2 separate regions of the Homo sapiens genome follow, and region 1 is linked to region 2. The links are contacts of gene promoters, found by promoter capture Hi-C in human tissues and cell types (Jung and others, 2019). All regions are on one chromosome and are shown on one strand. The core of a region is centred on a gene start or on the middle of the fragment in contact, and the rest is flanking DNA. Distances in the headings are between cores, read along the strand shown.

The links. Contacts are between HindIII fragments. The study calls those that stand out against the background at their distance.
Region 1: a fragment that was not itself captured here is called in contact with the fragment with the promoter of RNF103 in region 2 in 2 of the 25 tissues and cell types used here (dorsolateral prefrontal cortex and mesendoderm cells).

What each region holds. Positions count from the first base shown.
Region 1 is chr2:86,801,523-86,805,464 of GRCh38, reverse strand. The region is part of intron 1 of LOC105374846 (a long non-coding RNA gene); the gene reads right to left. It also overlaps a transcript of CD8A not described here. Among named protein-coding and RNA genes, the nearest start is that of CD8A, 13 kb to the right of the region's middle. The HindIII fragment of the contact is 6,316 bases long and covers 1-3,942 here.
Region 2 is chr2:86,622,121-86,626,139 of GRCh38, reverse strand. It overlaps RNF103 (ring finger protein 103), which reads left to right and starts at 2,275. Exons shown (of 4, transcript NM_005667.4): 1 at 2,275-3,479. The coding sequence starts at 3,254. All of the region lies in intron 2 of RNF103-CHMP3 (RNF103-CHMP3 readthrough), which reads left to right. RefSeq lists silencers at 2,085-2,254, 2,335-2,874, 3,145-3,224, 3,405-3,454 and an enhancer at 2,080-2,374. The HindIII fragment of the contact is 9,717 bases long and covers 1-3,439 here.

The DNA.
Region 1 (3,942 bases), core at 1,075-3,574, 180 kb before region 2:
TGAAAACTCCTCCACAGCTGGTGTGAGTGTGGACTGGAACCATGACTTCGGAGAAAAATGTATCAAAAGCTATGGGACACATCTTTCGAATCAGTCATTTCTCACAAGGTTGCCATACTCCTCAAGTCATTCCTTTTCCAGGAAAACACCCTAGAGAAAATCTTGTACTTGGACTCTAGGGAATGTGTACAAGGATGTCCATTGTAGTTTAGCTTATAACAGCAAAACCCAGCCCAAAAGTACATCAACAAAGGAATGAATAAATGAAAGTGGCAGTTGTCATTAAACCTTTTTCCTTTTCTTGTATCACCCCAAAGTATGAAAGACTATGGACTCCTTCACTCATTAAAAAAAAAAATTTAGGCCAGGTGTGGTGGCTCATGCCTGTAATCCCAACACTTAGGAAGGCTTAGGCAGGTGGATCACTTGAGGTCAGGAGTTCGAGACCAGTCTGGCCAACATGGCAAAACTCTGTCTCTACTACAAATACAAAAATTAGCCAGGCATGGTGGCGTGTGCCTGTAATCCCAGCTACTCAGGAAGCTGAAGTAGGAAAATCATTTAAGCCCAGGAGGTGGAGCTTGCAGCGAGCTGAGATCGCACCACTGCACTCCAGCCTGGGTGACAGAGCGAGACTCTGTCTCAAAAAAAAAAAAAAAAAAAAAAAAAAGATTTAGCAAGGAACAGTGAATGGCTCACCCCTGTAATCTCAGCACTTTGGGAGGCTGAGGCAGGAGGACTGCTTGAGGCCAGGAGTTGGGGGCTCAAGAGTTGGAGGCTGCAGTGAGCTGTTATCACACCAATGCACTCAACCTGGTTGACAGAGCTAGACTCTGTCTCTAAAAAAAATAATAATACTAATTTATTGTGGCAAAATACACATAACAATCTTACCATTTTAACATTTAAGTGTACAGTTCAGTGGTATTAAGTTCATGCACATTGTTGTGCAACCTTCACCACCATCCTTCTCTCTAACTCTTTTCATCTAGAAAAACTAAAACTCTATAACCGTTAAACATAACTCCCACTCCTCCCTCTCCCCAGCCTGTCCCAACCACCATTCTACTTTCTGTCTCTATTATTTTGACTACTTTAAATACCTCAAATACATAGAATCATACAGTATTTGGTTTTTTGTGACTGGCTTAATTCACTTAGCATAATATCCTCAAGATTCATCCATATTGTGGCATGTGTCAGAACTTCCTTTTTAAGGCTGAATAATATTCCACTCTATGTATATACCACATTTTGTTTGTTTAAATAAATTTTATTGTGTATATATAAGGTATATACAACATCATGGTATAAGACACACATATTTAGTAGAATGGATACTATAGTGAAACAAATTGACTTATGCATCATCTCACTTAGTTACCCATTTATTTCCTCCTGTAGCAAAAGCAACTATGCTCATCTAGCAAAAATCCTGGAATAATATGCTATTATTAATTGTAGTCTTCATATTGTACTTTATTTGACTTGTTCATCCTATATGTTTGCTACTTCGTATCCTTAGGCCTACATCTGCCCATTTCCTCTCTCCTACTCCAATCTTGATAACCACTGTTTTATTCTCTATATATTTGACCTTTTTAAAAGATTCCACAGGCCAGGCATGGTAGCTCACACCTGTAATCCCAGCACTTTGGGAGGCCAAGGCAGGTGGATCATCTGAGGTCAGGAGTTTGAGACCAGCCTGGCCAACATGGCAAAACCCCATATCTACTAAAAATACAATTAGCCAGGTGTGGTGGCAGGTGCCTGTAGTCCCAGCTACTCAGGAGGCTGAGGCAGGAGAATTACTTGAACCCAGGAGGCAGAGGTTGCGGTGAGCCAAAATTGCGCCACTGCACTCCAGCGTGGGCAACAGAGTGAGACTCCGTCTAAGAAAATAAATAAATAAAAGATTCCACATACAGGTAAGATCGTGCAATATTTTTTTTCTGTGTCTGGCTTCTTTCATTTAGCATAATGTCCTCCAGGCCCGTCTAGGTTATGGCAAATGCTATCTCCTCCTTTTTTAAGGCTGAATTCCCTTGTATATATCCGTACCACAATTTCTTAAACCATTCGTCCATTGATGGTTGTCTAGGTTGTCTCCATATCTTGGTTATTATGAATAATGCTACAATAAACACAGGAGTACAGATACCTTGGTGAGGTGGTGATTTCATTTCCTTTGGGTATGAGCCCAGAAGAGAGATGCCTGAGTCCACATTTTGTTTATCTATTCATCCAGTAATAAACACTTGGGTTGCTACCACATTTTAGCTACTGTGAAAAATGCTGTTATAAAATGAATGTACTTCTTTACTCACTTTTAACTTGACATCAAACATTTTTCATCACTATAAAGGACATAATTTCCAAAGTAAATGTTGATTTTTAAAAAAGAAAACCTTATTCTTTTTAATTATTTCTAATAGCACATAAATAATATATCAATTTTGTTTCAACCGTCACTCATTTTTAAAATACAAGAAAAAGTTCTTAACTTTTGGAAATTTTTCATCACTCCTTTTTCTCCTTAAACTTATGAATTCTAGGCCAGGCGCGATGGTTCACACCTGTAATCCCAGCATTTTGGGAAGCCAAGGCAGGCAGATCACTTGAGGCCAAGAGTTCAAGACCAACCTGGCCAAAGGGGTGAAATCCCATCTCTACTAAAAATACAAAAATTAGTCGGGTGTGGTGGTGCACACCTGAGTAGCAATCCCAGCTACTCAGGTGGCTGAGACACGAGAATCACTTGAACCAAGGAGGCAGAGGTTGCAGTGAGTGGAGATTGTGCCACTGCGGTCCAGCCTGGGCGGCAGAGTGAGACTCTGTCTCAAAAAAATAAAGAGTAAAAACAAATGGACTTATGAATTCTATTCTACTTCCTCCATAAAAGTTTAATAGGTGCATATGCTTAAGGACCTTATATTGATCAATATTTCATACTTCTCTGCCAAAAAAGCACATGAGATGAATTTTTAATTTCCTGCAACCATAAGTTTCTAAATATTAAAAGTCTTAGATTATGTCATCATTGCGACTATTAATAGTGCACAATTGTCCTTTATAGCATAAATAAACTGCAAGTCTTCAAAATTAATGAACATTAAAAGTAACCTTTGGCCAGGCATGGTGGCTCACACCTGTAATCCCAGCACTTTGGGAGGCCGAGGCAGGCAGATTACTAGAGTTCAGGAGTTTGAGACCAGCCTGGCTAACATGGTGAAATCCTGTCTCTACTAAAAATACAAAAATTAGCCAGACATGATGGCGGGTGCCTGTAATCCCAGCTACTAGGGAGGCTGAAGCAAGAGACTCACTTGAATCCAGGAGGCGGAGGTTGCAGTGGGCCCAGATCACACCACTGCACTCCAGCCTGGGCAACAGAAGAATGCTCTGTCTCTAAAAATAAATAAATAAATATAAAAGTAACCTTTGTTAGGGGAAACTGGGTGAAGGGTATGGAATTCTCTGTACCCTTTCTTGTATGTGCATGTCAATCTACAATTATCTCAAAAAAAGCTTTTTAAAACATAATTTTGGGGGAAAATTCAGCTCTTAATGAAATGGACCCCCCACAAATGAATTTTGTGGTCCAATTAATTAATGAACCCATAAAATAACAGGATTTATTTTATTTATTGATTGCTAGAATGAGACAGAGTTCAGTATTAATTTTGTTTTGCTTTTGTTTGTCATACAATGTAAGTACTGAGAAATTTTGTCTCCATAAATAAATAGTTGGCTTTGTTACAGCAGAATCACTAAATCTTTTAACTTTTTCCTTTTTTTTTCAAAAAGACAAAAGCATGAACCAGGTGCAGTGGCTCACGTCTGTAATCCCAGCATTTTGGAGGCCAAGGTGGATGGATGGATTCCTTGAGTCCAGGAGTTCAAGACCAGCCTGGGCAACATGGTGAACCCCCATCTCTACAA
Region 2 (4,019 bases), core at 1,026-3,525:
TTTCACCAAACACTATATTTTGGACATGGTTCCATGTCCATAACCGTGTGTCTACATTTTTCTTTTTAGTGGCTGCCTCATGGTTCATCATTTGAATTACTGTATTTGATCAATCCTCTGTCACTAGATATTTGGGTTCTTCCTTTTTTCTTTCCAGCATTAACTCTGCAACAACGACGAAATTCTATACACACATCTTTGTGCCCATGTCCAATTATTCCTCAAGATAAATTTCCTGAAGAGAGATTACTGTGCCAAAGAGCTTGTATTTTATGGGGGGCTTCTAACCCACATTGTATACCCCACCAACATAGAATGTGCTTGTCCATACTCTCTTATTCAGATGACCCAATGTGTTCTCTTATCAATGCTTTTATCCCTCCTGTGGGTTAACCATGAATGAAACAAAGCAAGGGGGTTGGGATGGGAGGCAGTTGAAACAAACAAGAAATTTAAAAAGAGTTCTTTAATTCCTTCTTTCTAGTCCCTCCCACACTCTAATGTTTTTTTCCAATTTGGAACTCTGGCCTGACTGGTTCCACCCTCAGCTCACACACCAACTTTCCCTGCCCATGCCTATTCTGTATTTTTGAGATTGGGTCAGTCTCTCCTCACTAGCGAGTACATACATTCCTTTGAGGTGAGGGACATCACCTTCAGTGTCAAGGTTTGGACAATATCATCAAAGGGTCACCAAGACATGCCCAAGAATTCTGAAATTTCAGAACCAGGCTTGTTAGAATCAGTTGTTTAACACAGTCTCCCACACTGATCTGCCAGCCACGAGAACAAAGCCACATGGAAGCTAAAGACACAGGGGCAGTGTCCAGTTGCTGGCTGGACATTCCTACACCTCCTCCTCTGATTCTCAATGCTCCCTGGGCCCATCCCCTTCCAACTCCTCCCCCACTAGCCCGGCACTGAAATGCCCTTGTTCACTTTATTTTAAATGGGCACCATTCGGAGGCTACATTCTCACAGTCCATTCTTTGCTTCCCGTTCCTCCCTTGCTCCATGACCTGGGATCATGATCCCTTTCTTCCTAAAACTTTCACCCCTAGTTTCAGATAGTTGACAGTTTTGCACAAATAGTAACATTTCCCCGTAATTACTGTTTTTTTTTTCCTTCCTTATCAAAAGGGGCTGGTCAAAGCCAACCTTGTTCAGTTTATGAACCCAACTCCTTCCTCCCTCAAGACTGACACAGAGATTGACGTAAAGAGTACGCTCGGCCCGGTTAAATTTATAAGCACAGAACCAGGTATCGCATGCTTGTCCATGTGACTCTTTTTTTTCTTTTCTTTCTTTCTTTTTTTTTTTTTTTTTTTTTTTTTTTTTTTGAGACGGAGTCTTGCTATGTCACCCAGGCTGGATGGAGTGCAGTGGCGCGATCTCAGCTCCCTACAAGCTCCGCCTCCCGGGTTCACGCCATTCTCCTGCCTTAGCCTCCCGAGTAGCTGGGACTACAGGGGCCCACCACCACGCCGGCCTAATTTTTTGTATTTTTAATAGAGGCAGGGTTTCACCGTGTTAACCAGGATGGTCTCGAACTCCTGACCTCGTGATCTGCCCGCCTCGGCCTCCCAAAGTGCTGGGATTACAGGCGTGAGCCACTGTGCCAGGCCCATGTACAAAATAAAGCACCCGGAACTTTGCACCTGGACTTATCTACACTCGACAATCTTTGTCCTAGGAACTCAGGGAGTCCACACCAGGCTTTTAACACCCTTGAGACTGAAGGAGGGAAAAGGCTGTAACTGGCAGCGACAACTGGGCCTAGTATAACGCGAACTCCAGTTTTGGCCAAACCTCCTCCAACACACATGTGCAAAGCCACATTCTCATGAAGAGGGGGCAAAACATTTGCTTTCTGGGTTTAACCTTCTACCATCTCAAACCAACTGTGCCAAAAATTTCCCTGTTCACCAGGATTCATCAAAAAACGTACATTTCTATTTTCACCGATTTTAAGAGAATAATTAACTGCTCTATTTTTACAAAAAATACACAAAGTGATACAATCTAAAGACTAATCCTCAGACAAAATCAATTGCTAAACATTGGAGGGGCAAAAGGGGAGACCACGCCGCAAAAGCACGGAGAGGCAACTTTCGGCACCGCGGGAAGGCCCCGACCACGCTGCGGCTCCGCCTCTCCTCCCGCCCCTCGTTCGGTAGTCCGGTAGCCCCGCGGCTCCCCGAATTCCCCGCCCTCGGCCCCTGCGGGCGCACCCTGCAGGCCCCGCCCCGGCCCCGCCTCATCGCGACGTCAGTTGTTATGTCTCGGCTCCGGCCGCGGCCGCCGCTGATACACGGTTGTGGAGGGTACGGCCGCGGTCTCCGGAGGTGGCGGGGGTGTTGGGGACGGGTGCTGCGACCGGCACTGCCCATCCGAGCGGGACGGGCGCTGAGTGGCCGGGAGGCAGCCGGGTAGCCGCCTGGAGGAGCAGTCTCGGGGCCTATTATTGGTTTTTTCCCTCCGAGACCGATTCCATCTGCAGAGACCGCGACGCCCCATCCTGGGCCGGGCCGCAGTGCCCGCCCGCCTGAGAGGCGCCGCCCGCCAGCCGGCCCGAGCGAACCTGGAGCCGCCGCCGTGCCCGCCGCTCTTCTCGCGGAGCCTGGGCGGTCGGCGGGGCCTGGGGCCTGGGCTTCGGGCGCGGCGTTGCGGCGGCCGCTCCTCCCCGCGCAGAACACGCTGGGCCCCGGGCCTGGCCCGGCCGAGCGCCGCGCCCTCCTGACCCGCGGCCGCGGGAGTCCGGCCCCCACGGCCCCTCGGGCCCCGGCCTGCCGCCCGGATCCCCGCCTCCTGGGCGGATCTGAGTTATTTTTTGGTCTCCCCCTCCCCCTTGAGATCGCGGCACCGGAGGGCCGACCCCGCCACCTGGGTCAGTGCCCGCCCCGGGGGAAGCGTCCCTCGTTTTGTTCTTCCCCGCGAGCTCTCCCCGCGCCCCTCTCCTTTCTGTGCTTAATGGATGGGGGTTTTGAGTTTTTCCCCTTTATTTTTGTCGGCTCTTGACTGGGAGGCCCGGCGCGAGGCTCTGCGTCTCTGCGTCCCTCGTCGCCGCCTCGCGCCCGCGCGGATCCCGTCACCTGCTTCCCCGCCGGGGATGGCCGGCCAGTGACGGCGCCGGGTGGCCCGCGCGTGGACACGGGGCCCTCGCCCAAGCTGCCACCGAGCCGCGGCCCCCGCCCTCGACCCTTCTCTCTCCCGTATTCCGAGCTCTCTGGAAAGAGAGGAAACTCCAGGGAAGATGTGGCTGAAGCTTTTTTTCTTGCTCCTCTATTTCCTGGTCCTGTTCGTCCTGGCCAGGTTTTTTGAGGCCATTGTGTGGTATGAAACTGGCATCTTTGCCACCCAGCTGGTGGATCCGGTGGCGCTGAGCTTCAAGAAGCTGAAGACCATTTTGGAGTGCCGGGGGTTGGGCTACTCAGGGTTGCCCGAGAAGAAGGATGTCCGGGAGCTGGTGGAAAAGTCAGGCGAGTATCGGGCTTCCCCTAGGGTCCCCTCCACCTGGGAGAGGGGACGACCTGTACCTCCTGGTACCTGGCTGTTCCCCCAGAGTGAGGCCTTTCCTGGAAGCGTTAAAGCTGCCCAGGTTTCTTCGTCCAAGCTTCCTACAATCAAGTATGCGGATCCCAGCTTTGAGGAGGAGTCTGAAATTATTTGGAGGAGTGTTGGTGTATCCTTTTAAGGTTATCGTAAAATGACAGTTTAAAGTGTGGCTTCTTAGCGTTGTTTACTAAGTTGAGTGATTTTCTCAAAATTCTGGAATATCAACTAGTTACAAACTGGAAAGCATTATTTGTCAGTTGAAGTTCATAAAAACGTAAGAAAAACTCCAAAACGTTGTCTGTCAATAGCAATATTTGTCACGATAGTAATAATAAGATACCCAGAGTGGGGACACATCTTTGGAATACTTACTATCAGAGGCACTTGGGCCTAGGATTTAAATGTTAAATCATGAGTTTGAATATAGACAGTATACACCGTACAGTATTAGCTTTTCAGACTTT